Linked DNA regions of Homo sapiens: all the other regions are linked to region 4. Evidence: promoter capture Hi-C in human tissues and cell types (Jung and others, 2019). All regions are on one chromosome and are shown on one strand. The core of a region is centred on a gene start or on the middle of the fragment in contact, and the rest is flanking DNA. Distances in the headings are between cores, read along the strand shown.

Region 1 (2,700 bases), core at 84-2,583, 1.2 Mb before region 4:
AATGCACCCGGCTATAACCACCTTTTGTACAGTTCTTCCCAAGTATCCATTATGCAGCCATATGAGATCATCCATCTGATCCCTGCAGTACGTGACGTACACAGATCAAATTATCTCCATGTTAAAAACAAGAAAAACTGAATGTCAGTTCCTAAATGCCTTCCCCAAGGTCATCTGGCCAGTAGGGAGCAGAATCAAGTGCAGACTTTAGGTCCTGTAACTACAGAGGTCTGTGATTTGTGCACATTAAATCCAAGGAGGCGAGCGGAGCACAGCGGTCAGGAGCCGTCTCGGCGGCCAGTGCTGGGTCCACACAGGGCAGCCCCTGTTTCGTCCACTATGGGATGGAAATAATGGCACCTACCTAAGGCTTTTGTGAGAATTCAGTAAAATGCATTTCTAGTACTGTGAACTGGAAAAATGTTAGCATTCAAAATGTTAGTTGCTGTTATTATTGTGGTGCTTGCGGTGTGGCTGGAGGACAATTAAATTGCTTCAGTGCTGTCACAGAGACTCGGAGCTCTGGGAGGATCCAGGAGGGGCACCGGCAACTGGGCCTCCCGGAAGGCAGGGCTCCCTGTGTCTACAGCATCTGCTGCACCCCTGTGGGCAGCACACCCCCAGAAGCACTGGGGATGAGGACAGAGCCACCCACAGCCACCCCAGCTCCGTGTTCCCTGCACTGGGGGCCAGGGCCTATCTTCTCAAGTAGAGACTTTACCACGACATGTGATCGTCTGTTCTAAAACCAGTGCACTTGCCAGGCACAGTGGCTCACGCCTGCAATCCCAGCACTTTGGGGGGCTGAGGCAGGAGGATCGCTTGAGCCCAGTAGTTCAAAACCAGCCTGGGGCCAGGAGCAGTGGTTCACACCTGTAATCCCAGCACTTTGGGAGGCTTAGACAGGTGGAACTCCTGAGGTCAGGAGTTCAAGACCAGCCTGGGCAACATAGTGAGACTACATCTCTACCACAATTTAGAAATTACCCGAGTGTGGTGGTGTGTGCCTGTACCTAGCTGCTCAGGAGGCTGAGGTGGGGGGATCGCTTGAACCTGGGAAGTTGAGGCTGCAATGAGCTATGATTGCATCACCGCACTCCAACCTGGGAGACAGCACGACACCCCAACTCAAATAAATAAATAAATAAATAAATAATGAAAACAAGCACATGACAGCTTGAATAATTATTTAATTACTTGGACTACAGTTAAAATGTTCTCAGGAGTCAAATGCTCATAAAGCTGCAGGGGGTGGCCTCGTCCTCAGCTGAGTGTAACCTGGGGCCACTGTCTGGACAGCAAGGAGGCAGGATGTGATGAGCTTTTTTCCCATCTGTAGCTTTTCACCCACTAATCCCACTGGGAGGAGTCTGCTGTTAGGATACAGTCAATCAGCGATGTAGTCAAAGGTTTGTGTGTAAGGAGATTTATCTCAGCTTGAGCAAAAAGAAAAACAAACAACATAAACATCCCAGCAACAGATTACTATTGAAATAGGTCGCTAAATGTGTATGTCCAGATGACTGAATATTATGCAGTCTTAAAAGGCATGCAGGATGCTCACAGATAATGTGAAAATGGGCAGAACGTACATCAGTTGTGTGCAAACAGGCACTGAGAAAAGACAAAGGTACACCGAAATATTACTAGCATTTATCTCTGGGTAATTTTTATTTTATTTTTCTGTTTTCCAATTTTTCTGTGAGGAACAATCACTACTTCTAGAATTTAAAAAAGTTACAGATATTAAGTCTAAATATAAATACCTCCCTACAAGATGTGAATGATATGAAAAGTATAGAAAAAGCAAGCTTCTAAAACCATAACCACACTTTCCTTCCACACATATCTCGAGGGCCGGGCACATCAGGGGTTAACATGAACTTCAAAGTGTCTACCCCCACAAACAAAATACAGTAAACATGACTATGAAAAAATAGTGTTTTCAATTTGTTTTCCAATTAACCTACCTCTATACAGGAAGGAGTAACGTCTGTTAAATACTTTTAAGTTAACGTAAAAAACATAAAACATAAAAACAAAATAGATTTGTAAGCATTTTGCTAAAATAGTCATTACGTGTCTCTAAAAACCAGAACAAGAAGACAGACAGTTTAAGAGTGAAAGCTATTTGCTGACTTAGACCAAGTGAAAGCCAACGCTAACCAAAAAAACATTTTCCATGTAAAAACATTCCTTTTAATATTTCTTAACCTAGAGCTCTACTCATCAAAAAGAGAAAGAGAGAAAAAAGATTACTGCTTAAAATCTCAGCAAAGGGAACCCAGTACTTAACTAGACCAGCTCCCAGAGTGACCAGATGCAAATCTCTTTCACAAATAGCCACAGGGCAGCACGGCCTCCTCTAGGAACACCGGCCCCAACTGCCCACCCGCGGGGGCTTCCAGGCCTCCAGGTGCCAAGACATCCCACCAGGGGCCAACCACATGGGACCTCTGGGGTAGGGCTTCCCTACAGTCAGCCTCCAACACACCCAGAATCCCTGTTCCAGACACTGCCTGTAGAAACAGAGGGAGTCTAAAGTCGAGAGCCCTAGGGAGGCTAAAGACATACTTCCTAGTCCTGTAATCCCATAAAACAGGGTTCAAAGGGCATCTTAACGGATGTATTGACTTCAGAGAGAACACCAGCATCTTGCTTGTACTCATGAGCAACAACTCATTTCTGCCTTCCTAGCCC
Region 2 (2,700 bases), core at 70-2,569, 1.2 Mb after region 4:
CGGCCTCCCAAAGTGCTGGGATTACAGGGGTGCACCGCCACCGTGCCCGGTCAGCCTCTCACTAGCTGAGGAGCCAGAACTTTTCCTGTTCTTACCCTTCTCCCACTGCCTGTCTCCCCTCCAATCTGTATGTGAATGTATGTTGTGAGGTTTTATCCATTTAATATTATACTCCTAAGATTCATCCATATTGTGTGTTCAGTGGTGGTTCATTCATTCATTCATTCTCACTGCTATAAAAAGGTTCCAGACTTGGCGTGGTGGCTCACGCCTGTAACTCCAGCTCTTTGGGAGGCTGAGGCAGGAGGATCGCTTGAGGTCAGGAGCTCAAGACCAGCCTGGGCAATGTGTTGAGACCCCCATCTCTACAAAAAAATTTAAAAAATTAGCCAGGCATGGTAGCTCACGCCTGTAGTTCCAGCTACTTGGGAGGCTGAGGCAGGAGGATGCTTGAACCCAGGAGGCCAAGGCTGCAGTGAGCCAAGATCACACTGCTGCACTGCAGCCTGGATGACAGAGCGAGACTCTGTCTCAAAAAGAGAGAGAGAAGGTTTCATCGTATGAATTATTTTTATCGTATGTCATTTTGTTTTTCTATTTTGAGATGGAGTCTTGCTCTGTTGCCCAGGCTGGAGGGTAGTGGTGCGATCTTGACTCACAGCAACCTCTGCCTCCCGGGTTCAAACGATTATACCACTTCAGCCTCCCAAGTAGCTGGGATTACAGGCTCCTGCCACTGTGCCTGGCTAATTTTTGTGTTTTTAGTAGAGACAGGGTTTCGCCATGTTGGCCAGGCTGGTCTTGAACTCCTGACCTCAAGTGATCCGCCTGCATCAACCTCCCAAAGTGCTGGGATCACAGGCGCGAGCACCTCGCCTGGCCTATCATTTTCATTAGGAAAAGTTTGTAGGTTGATGGGTCCTTGGTGCCTTTTTTTCCTGCCTGCTGCTGGAGAGGAGCTGAGGCTTGAGGAGAAAGGAGGAAGAAGGAACTTTAATGCATTGGCTGAATATATATATTTAACGTTTTGTCCTGCAGATGGTCCTCTGTAAATGGAGTAAATTACAATATTTGAGGAGTCTTCCTTACCTCATCTCTGAAGGCAGAGATACCCCATAGCCTCGGGGCCCCGGCTTTCTGTAGAGCTGCTGACAAAGTCCCCCTGAGCCAGAGCTGAGTCACTGCTGTGTCCAACAGTCTCGGGTTCTTGCATCTTTCCCGTCCAGCGTCTCGCACTGACCCTGGGGGTCCCCAACGCAAGCCCGTTCACATCTCACTATTCATATCTCAGCATGAGCGTTCACACTGTAAGTAACGCCCTGGCTCTTCTCCAACCTGTTTTTCCAGATAAACATTGACGATCTTGAGGATGACCCTGTGGTGAACGGGGAGAGGTCTGGCTGTGCGCTCACAGACGCTGTGGCACCAGGGAACAAAGGAAGGGGTCAGCGTGGAAACACAGAGAGCAAGACGGATGGAGATGACACCGAGACAGTGCCCTCAGAGCAGGTGGGGGGCTGAGTGGTGAGGAGGTGGCATCAGACGGGAGAGTTCCAAGGCACCCAGCCACGTGTATCCTGTGCTGTGATTTTCCTTGGAGGTGTAATTTTCCGAGTTCCATTTTGGTTACCTGCTAGTTGCCCCCAAATTTACTTGGGAACCTTGATGAGATTTGCATGAAATGAGTGAAGGTCGCAGGCCTTTCTCCTGCATCTCAGGAGAGTCTGCGCCTGCCCAGCAGTGTATGTAACCGCACACGTGTGTCCCTCCTAGCCAACCGCGCACGTGTGTCCCTCCTAGCCGACCGCGCACGTGTGTGCCTCCTAGCCGACCGCGCACGTGTGTCCTTCCTAACTGTGCCCCGAACGTTTGCTTGGCTGGGTTGTGGATCTGGGTGCTGGTGTAAGTGAACTTTGAAGAAACATGCAGGTCAGGTTAACGTGGGATGGGCAGAGATGCAGACAGCCTGCTGCTGTGCTCCACAGCACAGAAGAGGGGCCCTAAAAGGAGAGCTTGTGTTCATTTATCCAACAAGTGTTCTTGGGAGCTTGCTGGGTGCTGGGAACGTGCCTTTGCCCCCCAGGAGCCTCTGGTTGGGAGGGCAACATACATGTGAAGTGACAGGTGGGTCCTGACTTGAGGCTCAGGGTCCTGGGGGCTTCCTGAGGAGCCTTCCTACTGTCAGAAGGGGTTGGCCAGGTGCAGGCGTAGGGGACCACACATACAGGTGCGGTGTGAGGCGGCCAGGGCACAGCAAGGCCCCCGTCTTCAGGGTGGCTGCAGTGTGGCAGGGAGTGGCCGACACAGGGAGGAATGAGAGCTGGACCTGGTCAGGGTCCTGTGAGCCTGTGAGGCTGGACACAGAAGGCCCTGGGGACTGCTGTAGCACAGCCCGAGGGGCTCGGAGAGGTGGGAAGGTGCCTGCTGGAGAGAAGAGAGTGAGTTGAAGGAACTTTTGGGACACGGAGGGAGAGGTAGGGGCTGCTTAGGTGAGGGTGGAGTCACGCTTGCTGCTTTAATTCTCACTTCTTAAGATTTACTTCTCATTCTACTGATGAAAATGTGTTTCTATCATTAGTCTCATGCAAGTGGCAAACTCCGGAAGAAGAAAAAAAAACAGAAAAACAAGAAAAGCAGCACGGGAGAAGCATCGGTACGTGAGTTGGGCCTGGCTGTGCTCTGTCCCTCTGCCTGACGCCC
Region 3 (2,700 bases), core at 64-2,563, 1.1 Mb after region 4:
AGCTGGGAACAAAACAGTGAAGGGACCACACTCCTCTGAGCTGGGAACAAAACAGTGAAGGGACCACACTCCTCTGAGCTGGGAACGAAACAGTGAAGGGACCACACTGCCCTGAGCTGGGAACGAAACAGTGAAGGGACCACACTCCTCTGAGCTGGGAACAAAACAGTGAAGGGACCACACTGCCCTGAGCTGGGAACGAAACAGTGAAGGGACCACACTCCTCTGAGCTGGGAACAAAACAGTGAAGGGACCACACTGCCCTGAGCTGGGAACAAAACAGTGAAGGGACCACACTCCTCTGAGCTGGGAACAAAACAGTGAAGGGACCACACTGCCCTGAGCTGGGAACGAAACAGTGAAGGGACCACACTCCTCTGAGCTGGGAACGAAACAGTGAAGAGACCACACTGCCCTGAGCTGGGAATGCCTGGTCCTTGGATGCCCTCAGCTGAGAGGTGGCGTTCTAAACACCGAAGAGTTCATTTCTCACGAATTCCACCAACTGAGCTACAACTCGGTGCAAATGCAGCCTGCTTGGGGAGCTCCCTGGGGAACATGCCGTGCTGCGGAGAAAAAGGCCCTCCTGTCCCTGATGACCGAGAAGGAAGGGCGACAGCTGTGGTCTTCAGGACTAAGTGAGCCGCCAGGGAAGTGAGGGAAATGCTGCCCTCCTCCCACTCTCGGGACCCTGGGCTGCTAGGGGAGCCTGCTGAGCTCTGGCGGGAGCTGAGGTGAAGTCTCTGCTCCGAAGTCCCAAGAAAGCATAGTCAGGCGCAAGTGGGCCACAGTCATGCTCTCGTGACGGGGCACAGGCAGCCACCGTACAGCCTCCAGCCAGTGCACAACCCAAGACCGTGAACAAACAAGCCCTGCACCCCTGTGGACATGAAGGTGCCCGTGGGGTCTGAGTGGGGTCCACAGGGGAGAAGTCCTGCGGGTGCCATGGTGACGGCGGTGGGGGCAGGGACGGTTCTGGGAACTCAGGATGTGCGGCCCTCATCTGCTATGAGCTGGCATCTTTAACTGTGGCTTCCATGTCTCCTGATGCATTTTCCCTGAGATGGTAACACCCGTGATGGAGACGTGCTGCAGAGATGCCAGAGGCAGCTGTGGAGTCTCCCACTCATCCCCAAAACAAAACACCAAACAAGACAGCTGACCCACCAGAGCAGAGGTCAAAATTAAGGGGCATTTCGTCTGGCACTTGGCCAGTATGAAGTCGACCATCAGGGAGGGGTCTCTGCTCCGCAGACAGGCGTTCAGGAGGCCCTGCAGGAGAGAACGCAGCAGGAGGTCAGCGGTTTGTGAGGACCCACAACTAGTAGAGTGAAGGAACTCACAGGAAGCTGACAGGAGGATCCACCCACGGCGTTCTGAGAAGGCCACGAGAGGGGCTGAGGGAGCATCTCACCCTGAAGAAGTGGGCAGTGATGTCCTGTGTCAGGGCACCTCCGTGGGAGCAGAAGTTTCTCTGCAAAAGAGTTCAAGGCAGGTAAGAAAAGCCCACAGGAAGAGAGGCGAGACCAACATGCAGAGTGGCTGCTGTGGATTCAGTTTTGAGAAAAACACTCGCTAAGGCTTGGCGTGGCCACCATGGATGGTGCTCCTGGGCTGACCGGGCCTGGCGCCCTGGCTGTGCTGTCCTGAAACTTAACGGCTTCCCTGGGCGGCCAGATCCTGCAGCCCACCAGCTCTGGCCCAAACAGTCTTGTAGGCTCCAGGAAGAAGCCAGGGAGGCACAAGCAGCCGCAGGGAAGGGGACGCACCCGGAGCGTAGAACTGTGGTGAGGACGACACTAATACCAAGGGCCAACCATCCTCTGGTCCCTTCACTAACCAAGTGCTGTCTATGGTGTTTTCCTGTCTGTCGGCTGTCACGTGCCAACTGAGAGCTTTCTGAAAAACAGCCATTCATAAGAATTCAAAGGAGACCATAGTGATTTTCTGAAAGCTTTTGCTAGTCTCACGTCCTCTGCTTTCCTTGTCACATTTTGAAGTGCTGCACAAGGCCGGGCTCACACCTGTAATCCCAGCACTTTGGGAGGCCAAGGCGGGTGGATCACGAGGTCAGGAGTTCAAGACCAGACTGACCAACATGGTAAAACGTCATCTCTACTAAAAATACAAAACTTAGCCGGTCATGGCGGCAGGCACCTGTAGTCCCAGCTACTCAGGAGGCTGAGGCAGGAGAATCGCTTGAACCTGGGAGGCGGAGGTTGCAGGGTGAGCCAAGATTTCACTGCTGCACTCCAGCCTGGGCGACAGAGCAAGACTCTGTCTCAAAAAATAAATAAATAAATAAATAAATAAAAATATAAAATGCTGCACAGCTGGCATGGAACCTGAATTCCATCTCTCACATTTGTGCATCTTCAAAAACAAGAAAAAGGCCTTCGGGAGCAGAAGCTGCTCTCTGTAGAGTGGGAGGGGCTGGTATCCGTCTCCCCAGCTCTGACCAACTGGGTCCCTACGCTGCCCGTCCCCACAGCGAGTGTCACTTCTTTTTATTTGAGACAAGAGTTTCGCTCTGTCACCCAGGCTGGAGTGTAGTGGTGGGATCTTGGCTCAGTGCAACTCTGCCTCCTGGGCTCAATTACTCCTCCTGACCCAGCCTCTCAAGTAGGTGGGAGTACAGGCGTGCACCACCATACCCAGCTAATTTTTCTATTTTTTGTAGAAACAGGGTTTTGTCATGTT
Region 4 (2,700 bases), core at 185-2,684:
TGCACACTGGGATGGACCCTAAGCAACACTTTGAAACTTGCAACTATTACCCATGTAAATTCCGCACACATGTGTAGTCACATGCGCATCCACATACACATAACAGAAGCCAGTGTCCTTCACCATGAGCCAGGCACTCCGGCAGTTTCTGCTCTATTTTATTTTACAAAATTGCTGGGGGTGACTGATGAAACTGATTTCAAAATGCACATTTGAAAAGCATGGTCCTAGCTGGCACCCCCTGGTGGCAGCCCGGGCCTCGGGTGTGGGTCCAGGTGGGATCCCCCCCATCCCCAACTCTGGGTTCTGAGCTGGGATAAAGGCCTCTTGGCGGTGTTGCTGGGGGCCACAGCCCCAACAGCGCCCTTCCTGCTCTCCCCCACCGGCCACAGAGCGTGAGTCCCGACCACCGCGTCCGCCGGCGCCCCTCAGTGGGCCTTTGTCCCAAGAAGCTGCCAAGCCAGGTGGGGACTGCTCTCACCGCCCGTGTGGCAGGCTGTCCTCTGAAGGACAGAGTCCTCTTCTCTCGTGTCCCTAAGCCTAGCAGGCAGTGGGAATGAACGGGCAGCCCGGTTGCTGGGCACCCATCTCCCCAGCCTAGCCGGTGTGTGGAGGATTGCAGCCCTTTAGCCCAGCCTGCCCAGGCAAGCCTGCCGGGGTGAGCAGGAGGGCTTCTGGGGTGAAGGGAGGTGGGGGAGGGAGGGAGACCACGGGCGGAGGCTCACCTGAACTGAATGCAGGAGGGGCAGTGCCTTTGCACCAGAAAGAGCCCATGTGTCCTTCTCACCATCCCCTGTGCTTACACCCCCAGTCAGCATGCTCCGGGGGTCCCTGAGCCGGGCCGCCCCAGACGGCCCTCCTTCCCTCCCACCCACCACCCCGCGACCCCTCCCAAACGTGTGCGCCAGGAAGATGACTCCAGGGTGCCTTTAGCTGGGGCTGTAGTGGTTGGGACGGGCGGCTGTATATCAGGGGTGAGTTCCAGGGAGACTTGGGGGCTTAGAAAACTTAGAAAACTTCTCCAAGTTGGGAGAGAATCCCGCCCGCCCTGCCGGAGGCGGGGCTCAGTGCCCTGAAGTGGAGGCGCCCGTGGGCCACCTCCCTCCCTGCAGCCGCAGCCGCTGCGCAGAGGCGCTGGCTCCTTCTCCTCCCACCTGGGACAGGTGTCTCCCCAGCCCCCGCTCCCAGGGGCCTCTCTCTCTCTCCCGCCCCTCAGGGTCGAGTCCCGGCAGGGGCTCGGGGATCGGGTAGTCAGTACCTCTCTGCGTCTCCAGCCGCCGGTAGTTGGGGACCCTGTGGCTGGAGTGCGTTTTCACCAGGAAGGAGCGCGGCATGTTCCCCTCCCGGGCGGCAGGCCGGGGTGGGCTGGGGCGGGAGGGGCGCGCCTGGGTCCGGACTGCTGCGTCCGCCGGCGCTTGAAGGGGTCAGGCTCATTAGCATAGCGCGCCGCCTCCGCCAACCAGCGCCCGGCGCGAGTGGGGCGGGGCCACGGGGGCGGAACTGAGGGCGAGGCGGGGTCTCGGGCAACACGCCCAGGACAGGTGCGCGGGCGGGACGGGGCGGGGAGCGCGTGGCCGCCGGTGTCCTCCCCACGGGAATTCTCTGGCGTGCGCGCCGCCGAGTCACACACCGACCCGTCGGGCCTGGCCACCCACTCGCCGTGAGTGAAGGGCAGAGTTCAAAGCTGTGTGGAAACCGAGCGAGAATCTCTTCCACAGAATGTGGAAGCGTCGGCCGAGCGCGGTCCTTGGAGAACCCTTGCTGCGGAGAATGACGCTCACTCTGCGGCCTGGCCTCGCCTCCCCATCCCTTCTGCAAACTCACAGGACAGGATTGATGGGGAGAGCCCAGGCGAAACGAAGCTGACCCTAGTGACCAGCCCTACTGGCGGCTCTGGAACAGGCCCGGGACCGGTGGCCTGGAGACAGTGGTCCTTTCTGGATGGGCTGCAGTCTCCGAAGGCTTCCCCCACTGGAGTCAGCCCTTTAGGAGTTTGTCCAGTGCCTCCAGAAAGCTGTTTTTTGGGGGACGGAGGACTTGGCCTGGAATTCTGGAATTCCCAGGGGGTCAGACATGGTTATGGGAAGTTTAATAAAACCGGTGAATCACGTGAATTCTGCAACAGCTGCACGTGTGACCTGGGCAATCCGTTTCCCTCCTTTGTGGTCCTGTAGAGCCCTCAGGGTCATAAAAAGCTGGGAGCCGCTGTGTCCAGTGTCTGGGTCTCTTTTGACATGGACATTTCATAACGTTGGGGGCCAGGTGGGGCCGTCTCTGGGCTGGCGTGCACACAGGGTGTCCCTGGCTGTGCCGCCGGCCTGCCTCCCCAGCAGGGCTTCCACCTCAGAGCTGGGTGGCCTTTGCCCCCTGTGGGCCGGGGGTGGAGAAGGTGGGGGGTGGTGAGTCCATGGAAGCTCTGAGGGACAGACAGCAGGGAGGAGGGCCGTGCCACACCAGCATCCCACGTCCCACATCACACGTCCAGGGTGTGAAAAGCTGGGCTAGTATCAGCCCCACTTTGCCAATGAAAAAAAACTAGGCTGTGAGTCTGGGCTCAGCAGCTCACGCCTGTAATCCCAGCACTGTGGGAGGCTGAGACAAGAGGACTGCTTGAGCCCAGGAGTTTGAGACCAGCCTGAAAAACAACATGAGACCCCGTCTCTACAAAAAAAAAAAAAAAAATTATTTTAATTAGCCAGG
Region 5 (2,702 bases), core at 142-2,641, 1.1 Mb after region 4:
CGAACTCCTAACCTCAAGTGATCTACCCACTTCGGCCTCCCAAAGGGCTAGGATTACAGGCGTGAGCCACCACGCCCGGCTTTTTTTTTTTTTTTTTTTTTTTTTTTTTTTGTGAGACAGTCTCACTCTGTAATCCAGACTGGATTGCAAGGGGCGTGATCTCGGCTCACTGCAATTTCTGCCTCCCGGGTCCAGGTTCAAGCAATTCTCCTGCCTCAGGCTCCCGAGTAGCTGGGATTAAAGGCGTGCGCCACCACACCCAGCTAATTTTTGTATTTTCAGTAGAGACCGGGTTTCACTATGTTGGCCAGGCTGGTCTCGAACTCCTGACCCTGAGTGATCCACCCGCCTTGGCCTCCCCAAAAGCTGGGATTACAGCCCTGAGCCACGGCGCCCGGCCTGTTTTTTTGTTGTTGTTGTTTTGTTTTTAATAAAAGAGGCGGGGTCTCACCCCGTTGCCCAGGTTGGTCCAGAACTCCCGGGCTCAGGCGACCCTCCCCTCTGCGGGCCAGGCCACCGCGCCCGCCGCCTCGGGTGTTTTCTTAGGAAAGCTGTGCGGTGGCTGGACTCAAAAACCCCGAACCTAAATCTGCCCGCAGACGGACACCAGCTTCCTCTTACCTCAAGCAAAAGGGCATTCAGGTCCTGATGGCTTCGCAGGAGGCGCACAGCTGATTCCTTTAATTTCTGTGCCCTTTCAGGATTATATTTTTCCCTCTTGACCCTTCCCGCTACGGAGAGAAGTCGGTTCGAAACCATCACAGCACAATTCACACACGGGGTCCCCGGCCCGACGCGCAGGTGGACGCCGCGGAGAAACCCACCAGCGACACCCTCCCGAAGAGGGGCCGGGGCTCCTCCCCAGGGCGCAGGTCTCGGGAAACTAACGGAGACGGCCCCACCGCGGACGCCGGGGAAGACGGCCCAGGAGGGCCCGAGGCAGGGGAGCCCGGGGACGGCTGGCGAGGGGCGGCCTCTGCGCTGAGGGGAGCCCCAGGCCGCGCACCCCAGGCCCGCCTGACAGGGCGGCCGGCGGGGGCGGCGTTCGGGAAAGAAGGGAGCGCCCCGCGGGCGGCGGCTGGGGGCGTCCGCCCAGGCGCAGGAGGGGCCGGGTCCGAGGCAGCCGCGCCGCCCCAGCCGGGCGCCCACCCCGCACAGCCCCCCGGGCGCGGCGTCCGGGGATCCGACCGGCGGAGGCTCTGGCGGGAAGGGATCGGGGAACCGGCGAAACCGTCCCGGGCCGGACGCCGCCCACTCCCGCGGCCTGCCGCGCCCACCTACCCAGCAGCTCGGCCCAGGCCCTCCGGCGGCCCCCTGGGTCCTGGCCCGAGGCGGAGTTCGGGACCCACGAGTCGGACATGGCCTTGGCGCCTACAGCCCCGGCGGCGGCTCCCTGCGCCCGAGCCCGCGCTGCCTTCCTATTGGCTGCGGCCAGGCGCGCACACCCGTTGGCTGGCGGCGGCCAGGCCACGCCCCTCAGGTCGAGGCCTTGCGTCGTGGCCATGTTGGTCCTGGGGGAGGCGCCTGCGCGCGGTGAGGTAGTTTTTGCGTTTGGCTTTGCCGCCGCGGTGTAGTCCGCGGGGGCGTCTCGCGCGGGCAGACTGCCGCCCCTCAAGCGTGGTTCCTGCCGGGAATGACTGGGGTTGGTCCTGAAGAGACCACCTGGCCAACCAAGCCGAGGCAGGCTCAGAGCGCCGCGGGGAGCGCAAAGCCGCGCGCGCCTCTGAGCTCCGGGCAGCCGCTGTTCCTCCCGGCGGCCGAACGGTCCGCGCGCAGGGCGGTGTTTCGGCAGCCGGAGACCGCGCGGTAGCCGCGCCTGTATTCCCAGCGCTTTGGGAGGCCGAGGCTGGAGGGTCGCTTGAGCCCAGGAATTCCAGACTAGCCTGGGCAACAGAGCGAGACCCCATCACTTTTGTTTCTTTTCTTTTTTTTTTTTTTCCTTTTTTTGAGACGGAGTCTCCCTCTGTCGCCCAGGCTGGAGTGCAGTGGCGCGATCTCGGCTCACTGCAACGTCTGCCTCCTGGGTTCAGGTGATTCTCCTGCCTCAGCCTCCCGAGTAGCTGGGATTGCAGGTGCGCGCCACCACGCCTGGATGATTTTTGTTATTTTTAGTAGAGACAGCGTTTCGCCATGTTGGCCCAGGCTAGTCTCGAACTCCGGACCTCAGGTGATCCGCCCGCCTCGGCCTCCCAAAGTGCTGGGATTACAGGCGTGAGCCACCGCACCCGGCTGAGACCCTATCTTTTAACCAGCCTGGGCGGCAGAGCGAGACTCTGTCTCAAAACAAAACCAAACATAAGAATTCGTAAAAGCGAGTGCCTAGGCGAAGCTAATGTGCCTCAAAGTCCTGGGTAAGTAGAGGCCCTGGAGACCCGTCCGCATCCTCTGGCAGTGGCCTTGGAACCACCGAAGGGATTCAGCCGAAGGGCCGCGTTCCCGGCAGGCGTCTTTATTGTGTTGATTACGTAGATGGCGTAGATGACGTAGATGACGTTCAGCACCACAAACGAAGAGCCGAGGCACAGAGTGGGGCCTTGGATTCATGAGATGGGGATGGAGCAGAAATGAGAATTCGGAGTCCATGAAACCCCCACAAAGACTCCTGCACGGCCCGACTCGGACACTTTGCAATCTGCTGGTTGAGGGGGATGGTGTGAACTCAGGGAACAGCCTGAGATCGCGCCGCTGCACTCCAGCCTGGG

What was found. Contacts are between HindIII fragments. The study calls those that stand out against the background at their distance.
Region 1: a fragment that was not itself captured here is called in contact with the fragment with the promoter of SNAI3 in region 4 in 1 of the 25 tissues and cell types used here (aorta).
Region 2: a contact is called between a fragment that was not itself captured here and the fragment with the promoter of SNAI3 in region 4, in 1 of the 25 tissues and cell types used here (adrenal gland).
Region 3: a fragment that was not itself captured here is called in contact with the fragment with the promoter of SNAI3 in region 4 in 1 of the 25 tissues and cell types used here (spleen).
Region 5: the fragment with the promoter of FANCA here is called in contact with the fragment with the promoter of SNAI3 in region 4 in 3 of the 25 tissues and cell types used here (lymphoblastoid cells, pancreas and spleen).

What each region holds. Positions count from the first base shown.
Region 1 is chr16:87,469,200-87,471,899 of GRCh38, forward strand. All of the region lies in intron 1 of ZCCHC14 (zinc finger CCHC-type containing 14), which reads right to left. Among named protein-coding and RNA genes, the nearest start is that of ZCCHC14, 22 kb to the right of the region's middle. RefSeq lists enhancers at 47-632, 633-1,217, 1,903-2,700. The HindIII fragment of the contact is 5,698 bases long and covers 1-2,700 here.
Region 2 is chr16:89,882,004-89,884,703 of GRCh38, forward strand. It overlaps TCF25 (TCF25 ribosome quality control complex subunit), which reads left to right. Exons shown (of 18, transcript NM_014972.3): 2 at 1,348-1,509; 3 at 2,579-2,653. Among named protein-coding and RNA genes, the nearest start is that of TCF25, 9.8 kb to the left of the region's middle. RefSeq lists an enhancer at 489-658 and a cis regulatory region at 574. The HindIII fragment of the contact is 6,115 bases long and covers 1-2,700 here.
Region 3 is chr16:89,745,417-89,748,116 of GRCh38, forward strand. FANCA (FA complementation group A) reads right to left here. Exons shown (of 43, transcript NM_000135.4): 34 at 1,415-1,474; 35 at 1,168-1,272. Among named protein-coding and RNA genes, the nearest start is that of ZNF276, 25 kb to the left of the region's middle. RefSeq lists an enhancer at 1,285-1,454. The HindIII fragment of the contact is 8,916 bases long and covers 1-2,700 here.
Region 4 is chr16:88,685,073-88,687,772 of GRCh38, forward strand. It overlaps SNAI3 (snail family transcriptional repressor 3), which reads right to left and starts at 1,435. Exons shown (of 3, transcript NM_178310.4): 1 at 1,259-1,435. The coding sequence starts at 1,334. SNAI3-AS1 (SNAI3 antisense RNA 1) reads left to right here. Exons shown (of 4, transcript NR_024399.1): 4 at 1,719-2,114. RefSeq lists silencers at 1,046-1,205, 1,256-1,715. The HindIII fragment of the contact is 11,241 bases long and covers 1-2,700 here.
Region 5 is chr16:89,815,256-89,817,957 of GRCh38, forward strand. FANCA (FA complementation group A) reads right to left here and starts at 1,392. Exons shown (of 43, transcript NM_000135.4): 1 at 1,282-1,392; 2 at 622-731. The coding sequence starts at 1,360. RefSeq lists silencers at 896-945, 1,176-1,465 and enhancers at 1,326-1,620, 2,006-2,055. The HindIII fragment of the contact is 15,845 bases long and covers 1-2,702 here.